Linked DNA regions of Homo sapiens: region 2 is linked to region 1. The links are contacts of gene promoters, found by promoter capture Hi-C in human tissues and cell types (Jung and others, 2019). All regions are on one chromosome and are shown on one strand. Each heading gives the region's core, a stretch centred on a gene start or on the middle of the fragment in contact. The rest is flanking DNA. Distances are from core to core; before and after follow the strand shown. Region 1 holds the start of BCL2A1 (BCL2 related protein A1). Region 2 has its middle 21 kb from the start of ZFAND6.

Region 1 (4,062 bases), core at 429-2,928:
ACAGCACTCTTAATAATACTATTTTAAATAATTCTGGGTAAAAAAATAAGTGGCAGCATTAGTACCATGTACTATTTTTACATATACACATGTAAAAATATGTATGCAAAATTTATATGTATACATAAAAAATCTATGTGTATATGTAAAAAAGGTATGTGTTATATGGTATAACATATATGTTATGTAAAACATATACATAAGCATACATATACATTTTATATAAAACTTTTTTTACAAAAAATGTTTTACAAAGAAGTATTGTTTATTTTCTATGGATAGATTCAGTAGGCATGTTTTGCATGCAAAATAATTGATAACAGTGGTTACCTCTTGGGAGAGGTGAAGGCCGTTGGAGAGAGGATCAATGAACACTTAAGTGCTTTAAAAAAATAATTATTAAGTATATTGGAATATAAAGGAAACCATATACATCCAGCTGTGTCAGGCTTTTTACCAACATGAGTTTCAACACAGGCCTCTACATAGTCTTGGCTTTTTTAGGCACTGATAATAAAGTAAATTTTTATTTGAAAATTCTTGAATAAAGGTTCTTGCTGGTCATACAGTATATTATGTTTTAATCAACAAACTTTAACAGCCCGGAATTTATTATTAGTAATAATGTGTTATATATTATATGTAATGTAATTTGCTATATATTAATATATGTTACTATTTATTATGTATTAGTAAACTGAAAAACACCAATTTGTAAGCGATGAACTTACAAAAATTTACACCTGTCTTTTGCAACCCATAAATACCTAAAAATAACAGCATCTGATAGCAACTTTCTGTGCTGATTGTAGAAATTTCTGTACTGTCTGTACTGTCATGACAACCCTAGCAAAAGCTAAGTACTAGATTAGAGTGTGTGCACAGCTGATTGTGAAGCTGCATGAGAGAGGTGCTTTATTAATCCCCAAAGCTCACTACTGTAATTTATACTGTTAAGAATAAAAACTGAAAACATAAGTGCTTTCCAACTATAAAGTTCAAGTTCAAGGATTCATTGGAAATAAGCCAGAAAGTATATTTTTATTTTAAAAATTAAAACAAACCACCCAAGGAAAATAGTATTCTTAGGTAAAGTGTTTTGTTGTTGTTTTAACTAGCAAGGAAATTCTCAATTTCTATTTCACAGGAAAGAACAATGAAGAATTTTTCCATCACACATACCCAGCCTCCGTTTTGCCTTATCCATTCTCCTGTGTTATTCATTATGAACTCCGCAACAAAATATGAAATCTCCTTATAGGTATCCACATCCGGGGCAATTTGCTGTCGTAGAAGTTTCTTGATGAGAATACCTTCAAATGCAAATATGGTTACAATTCTTCCCCAGTTAATGATGCCGTCTTCAAACTCCTTTTCCATCACTTGGTTGAATAGTGTTCTGGCAGTGTCTACGGACACAACATTAACATTGTCCAAGCATGACTTCAGATTCTTTTCCACTTCTTTTTGGACTGAGAACGCAACATTTTGTAGCACTCTGGACGTTTTGCTTGGACCTGATCCAGGTTGTGGTATCTGTAGGACGCACTGCAGATAGTCCTGAGCCAGCCTGTAAATATATCCAAATTCACAGTCTGTCATCTTCTGCCTGGTGGAGAGCAAAGTCTTGAGCTGGCTCACCTTGAAGCTGTTGAGGCAATGTGCTGAGAATGCTCACTGAGCTTGACTGAGTTATGACACATGATGATACATGGAGGCTGGTGGAATTTCTGTTTGCATCACTTTATAATATCCTTCCTCCTAGTCACTTTCGTGCGTAGGCTGTGTTTCATGTCATGTATGAAAGAGAAAGTTTAAAATGTGAAAGAGGAAAATGTTTCAGAGAAGCCACTTCCTCATCCTGTGATTAATTCAGCTTTGCAAGTCTTAAATGCAGGATGTGGAGAAATTAGAATCCTTGTAGATTGCTGGTGGGAATGTGAAATGGTACAACCCCTGTGAAAATGTTGGCAGTTTCTCAAAAAGTTAAATACAGAATTGTCAAAAGACCCAGCAATTCCATTCATAGGTATACACCCAACAGATACTCAAATACTTACATACGAATGTACATGGCAGCACTATTCACAATAGCCAAGATGTGGACACAACTCAAATGTTCATCAACAGACGAAAGGATAAATAAATTATGGAACATTATTCATCCCAAAAAAGGAATGAAGAACTGATACATGCTTCAACAGGAATGAACCTCAAAAACATTAGGCTAATAGAAAGAAGCCAAACAGAAAAGGTCATACATTATGTGATTCTATTTCTATGAAATATCCAGACAGTTAAATCCATAGGATAGAAAGCAAATTGGTGGTTGACAGGGGCTGAGAAGAGGAAGGAGTAACTGCTTAATGGGTAGAAGGTTTTCTTTTGTGTGATGAAAATGTTTTACAAGGCCGGCCGCGTTGGCTCACGCCTGTAATCCTAGCACTTTGGGAGGACAAGGCGGGCGGATTGCCTGAGCTCAGGAGTTTGAGACCAGCCTGGGCAATATGGTAAATCCCCGTCTGTACTAAAATACAAAAAATTAGCCAGGCGGGTGGCGTGTGCCTGTAATCCCAGCTACTCGGGAGGCTGAGGCAGGAGAATTGCTTGAACCCGGGAGACAGAAGTTGCAGTGAGCCAAGATCACGCCACTGCACTCCAGTCTGGGCAACAGAGCGAGACTCTGTCTCCAAAAAAAAAAAGAAAAGAAAATGTTTTGCAGCTAGATAGAGGTGGAAGTTGCACAACACTGCGAAGGTACTAAATGCCACTGAATTGTTCACTTTAAAATGGTTCTGTGAATTTCAAATTTAAGAAAAGTCTTAAACGCCATCCACGGGGTAAACCGGAGTAACGACAATTTGGAATGGAGACTACAAAACAGCCTGGGTGGCAGAGAACAGGGCCTCTCGAGGTGACTCTGGCAGTACCGCCCTTGATCATTTGTAATTGAGTAAGGATGATACCGAGAGGGAAGAAAAAAATACCCTCTTTGGGCCAGGCACGGTGGCTCACCCCTGTAATCCCAGCACTTTGGGAGGCTGAGGCGAGCGGATCACGAGATCAGAAGATCGAGACCATCCTGGCTAACACAGTGAAACCCCATCTCTACCAAAAATACAAAAAATTAGCCAGGCATGGTGGCGGGCACCTGTAGTCCCAGCTACTTGGGAGGCTGAGGCAGGAGAATCCTTTGAACCCAGGAGGCGGAGCTTGCAGTGAGCTGAGATTGTGCCACTGCACTCCAGCCTGGGCGACAGAGCGAGACTCCATCTCAAAAAAAAAAAAAAGAAAAAGAAAAAGAAAATACCTTCTTTGGTCTTCACCTTCCACCTACTCTAGAATTTCTGATAGAAAACAAAATTCTGCTTTAAGCCTGACTTAATTCACATTTTTAACTCAGGTAAACTATCCGATGTGTGGATTAGAAATTGCAGGACCAGAAAGAGCACTGGACTTACAGTCAGAGGGCCTGGACTCAGTCCCAGCCAAATCTCTCTTTCTTTACTCAGTATGTACCTTGGGTCTGTGCTTAATTTGTAAAATGAGGCAATACATGTTGACCTCAGAGGGTTGAGGTGAAGTTCAAAGAGATGACCTATGTAAAGCCTCTATCACCATGCCTGGTAAAACGTACGTGCCTAATCAAAGCTAGTTCCTCATTGTTCTTTTGTGGACTAATGAGGAATTTGGCCTCCCAATCATCTCTTTACCTATCAAGGATATAACTTCATAGGTGAAATGCAAATCTCATTTGATTTAGCTATGGCAGCAATCCTGAGAAAAGGTTTGCAGTGGATGGAAGAAAAAGGAGATAACTCATGGTCGCTGGAGAAATTGAATTCACTTTTTTTTTCCATCCACATATGGAGTGACTTTGAGTCTTTTATCCTGTCTATGACCAGCTGCAAATAGGAAAAATGATTCATATATAACCTGCATTTCTGAACTATCACCATAGGGTTAAGGAGGAAAGGAGAGGTGCTGCTTAGAATGCTCGTTAATAGCGTGGCAGCCATGAAAATGCATCTTTCAGACCTACTGTGGTGGTTTAATTGACTA
Region 2 (4,062 bases), core at 959-3,458, 68 kb after region 1:
AGCAACCCCTGCAATGACCCTCCTCCCTGGGGGTCTGTGGATACTTCCCCTGCCTCCTTCTCCCCTATTTACATGCCAGGGCTAAGAGGGTGATAGACAAGCGTGAAACAAAATTACTTTCCATGTGAAACAGGCTACCCTACTTTGGCTGCCAAATGAAAATGCGAAAAGGTTCAAAAATACAGTTTCTTGATGGATTGAAGATTGTGGAAACGGTGAGAAGGAAATGAGGCGGCCACTAGGGAAGCCCAGAGGAGATGTGGTGAGGCACCTAACATCCCCCTCTTCTACAAACCTTCAACCCCAGCTGGGATGCACAGTAAGAAAATTCAAGCTTCTTGGCCCGGCACGGTGGCTCACGCCTGTAATCCGAACACTTTGGGAGGCTGAGGCAGGCGGAGTACCTGAGCTCAGGAGTTTGAGACCAGCCTGGGCAACACGGTGAAAACCCGTCTCTACTAAAATACAAAAAAAAAAATTAGCTGGATGTGGCAGCGTGCACCTGTAGTCCCAGCTACTCGGGTGGCTGAGGCAGTAGAACTGCTTGAACCCAGGAGGCAGAGGTTGCAGTGAGCCGAGATCGCGCCACTGCACTCCAGCCTGGGCAACAGAGCGAGACTCTGTCTCCAAAAAAAAAAAAAAGAAAATTAAAGCTTCTTTTAGGCCTCCCGTCATTGCAGCAACTGCACTGTCAAAGGTACAGCATCATCATCTGACCCAACAACCTCCAGGTAAGATATAGCAAGGATCCTCAGCCTGGGACTTGGCTCCATCCAATGCTTTGGAAGGGGAATCTGGCTTGACATTACAGGTCTCCTGCAGGCTCCCTCATCACTCTCCGATGATGGGTCTCCTTCCTCAAAGCTCCAGGTCATTGCTGACATTGGTTGACCCTGCTGCCTAGAGCAAACTATGGCCCATGGGCCAAACCAACCATTTTGTAAATAATGTTTTACAATAATGTATCTACAAAATAGCACCTATTTTGTAAATCACGTTTCAATAGAATACAGTCATGCTCATTTATTTATATCAGACCTCCCTCCCCCCAGTTACATTTTGGGTTGTGACAACTGAGGAGTGCTACTGGTATCAACTGGGTAGAGACTAGGATGCTGCTAAATATCCTACAGTTCACAGGACAGCCTTCATAACAAACAATGATCCAGCCTCAAATGTCAGCAGGCCAAGGTGGACAATACCTTGTGTATTGTTTATGGCTGCTTCTGAGCTAAAATGGGAGAGTCGAGTAGATGTGACAGAGATCACATGACCTGCAGAGCCTAAAACATGTTCTATTTGGATTTTGTACTAGTCAGGGTTTTCCATAGAAACAGAACCAATAGGATAGAGAGAAAGGAAGAAAAAAAGAGAGAGAGATTTAAGGAACTGGCTCATGTGATTATGGAGGCTGGCAAGTCCAAAGTCTGCAGGGTGGACTGGCAGGCTGAAGACCTGGGAAGAGCCAAGGTTGCAGTTTGAGTCTGAAGGCTGTCTGCTGCAGGATGCCTTCTTCCTCAGGGGAGGTCAGTCTTTGTACCATTCAGTCCTTTGACTGATTGGATGAGGCCTACCAACATTGTGGAGGGCAACCAACTTTACTCAAAATCCACTGATTTCAATGTTAATCTCATCCAAATGTACTCTCACAGAAACATCCAGAATAATGTCTGACCAAATATCTGGGTACTGTGGTCCAGCCAAATTGACACATAAAATTAACCATCAAAGCCAGGCGCCGTGGCTCACACCTGTAATCCCAGCACTTTGGGAGGCCAAGGTGGATGGACTGCGAGGTCAGGAGTTCAAGACCAGCCTGGCCAATATGGTGAAACCCTGTCTCTACTAAAAATACAAAAATTAGCTGGGCGTGATGGTGCGCGCCTGTAATCCCAGCTACTTGGGAGGCTGAGGCAGAAGAATCACTTGAATCCAGAAGGTGGAGGTTGCGGTGAGCTGAGATTGCATCACTGCACTCCAGCCGCGACAGAGCAAGACTCTGTCTCAAAAAAAAAAAAAAAAAAAATTAACCATCAAAGGCTTTTACAGAAAAAGTTTGTAGAACCCTCGGAGTCCCACCTCACCAGAGCTGAAGACTTGTTGGATTAACCTCATGAGAGGATTTTAGGTGGGCGTGACTTTGGATGTCAAGGAGAATGGAGAGTAAGCTGTGATCAGAACGCTGTGGTCATGCCTCCATGGCTCTAGCTGACTCCCCCAAGGGCAAAGTCCACCCTGACCCTCCCCTATGGACACAGTCCTTAGTTTACAATGTAATTTCACATTTTTTTTTTATTTGAAACGACCCTTTAAGGTAGAGTCCGGGGAGATGATACTGTTTCACTGATAAGCAAACTGAGGCCCAGAGAGGTGAGGTAATACCACACAGGGAGTTCGGGTGAGAATGGTGATCTCCTGGTTCCCAGTTTGGTGTTCTTGGGAATCACAATTCACTCTAGGGTGACCAACTGTTCTGTGTTGCTGTTGTTGTTGTTGTTGTTGTTTGAGATGGAGTCTTGCTTTGTCACCCAGGCTGTAGTGCAGTGGCACGATCTTGGCTCACTGAAACCTCCGCCTCCTGGGTTCAAGAGATTCTCCTGCCTCAGCTTCCCGAGTAGCTGGGACGACAGGCATTTACTACCACGCCCGGCTAATTTTTGTATTTTTAATAGAGACGGGGTTTCACCATGTTGGCCAGGCCAGTCTCGAACTCCCCACCTCCCGACCTCAGGTGATCCACCCACCTTGACCTCCCAAAGTACTGGGATTGCAGGGGTGAGCCACCGTGCCTGGTCCTGTTCTGGTTTTTATAGGCCCAAGAGATTTCCTGGAATGCAGGATTTTAGGTGCTAAAACTGGGGAAATCTGAGGCAAACTGGGACAAACTGATCACCCCACTTTGCCACCTCATGGATGTCTGACCTCAGTTACCCTAGCACTAAGTAGAATTAGCCAGCCAGGAGCTCAAGGCCCTGGGGAGACCCCTCAGTTAGGTGTGATGTGAGCAGACTGCCAGCACGGGCACCAACCGGTGTGTGTCCCTTTTCTCCAAACTCGAGAACAGAAATGTGATGGCAGCTTGAAGGGGGCTGGAAGGAGCTCTAGAACCCAGAGGTGAGACCTGCCTCAGCCTGCACCCCCTTTAGCAGCCAATGCCCCTGCTTGCCCCTAAGTTTCTCCATCTCTAAAATGATGATCTTTGGGTGCACCTAATAAATATTTACATTTTTACATTATACTTTCTTCTAGCACCGGAACTAATATTCATTCATTATCATAGACTTGGGGGGAATAAAAAGAGGAAAAAAAAAAGTTTTAACATCTAAATTTCCACTAATTCTAGTTTTTCCTAGATTTTTTTTCCATGTACAAAATTTATGCTTACTTTCACTCACTAGTGATTATACTATACAATTTTATTAGGTTTTTCCTTTTTTTATAACCTTTTCGTTTTTAAAAAAATTCTTACTAGATTATAAAATTGGTGAAAATATGAAAAACACATGAATAAAAAAGCCAATAGTAATCATCACCTATAATGCCACATATGTAAATATATATATACATATATAAATATATACACGTGTATATATAAATATAAACATCTATTTTCCTAGGCATATATGTGTTTACATTTATACGTGTATGTGTGTATATATTTAAATATGTATATATATTTACAAATAGGAGATAGTTATAGATATTTTAAAATACACATATATATACACAATACATGTGTTTATATAAACACATACTTTATGTATCTGTTTATAATTTATTTTTATTATAAAATTAATATATTTTCATTAGAAAAAATTCAAACACTCATAAATAAGCTTTCTCTTAGCCTCAAAACCATCCCTCAGAGATAATAACCCCTATTTTCAATTTGGTATCTATCTTTACAGGCATTTATTTCATTTGTAGGTATACATGTGTCTACATTTTTAACACAGATAGGATCTTAACATAGTACTGTTCTGTGACTTGCCTTTTCACTTAAAATATTATTGGCATATTCATAGAATGTTCTCTCCTGCTTTATTCACTTAACTTTCAAAG

The links. Contacts are between HindIII fragments. The study calls those that stand out against the background at their distance.
Region 2: a fragment that was not itself captured here is called in contact with the fragment with the promoter of BCL2A1 in region 1 in 4 of the 25 tissues and cell types used here (dorsolateral prefrontal cortex, liver, lymphoblastoid cells and 1 more).

Annotation. Positions count from the first base shown.
Region 1 is chr15:79,969,518-79,973,579 of GRCh38, forward strand. It overlaps BCL2A1 (BCL2 related protein A1), which reads right to left and starts at 1,679. Exons shown (of 2, transcript NM_004049.4): 1 at 1,183-1,679. The coding sequence starts at 1,602. RefSeq lists an enhancer at 1,103-2,302. The HindIII fragment of the contact is 21,858 bases long and covers 1-4,062 here.
Region 2 is chr15:80,036,816-80,040,877 of GRCh38, forward strand. No RefSeq gene overlaps it. Among named protein-coding and RNA genes, the nearest start is that of ZFAND6, 21 kb to the right of the region's middle. RefSeq lists an enhancer at 2,894-3,393. The HindIII fragment of the contact is 5,767 bases long and covers 1-4,062 here.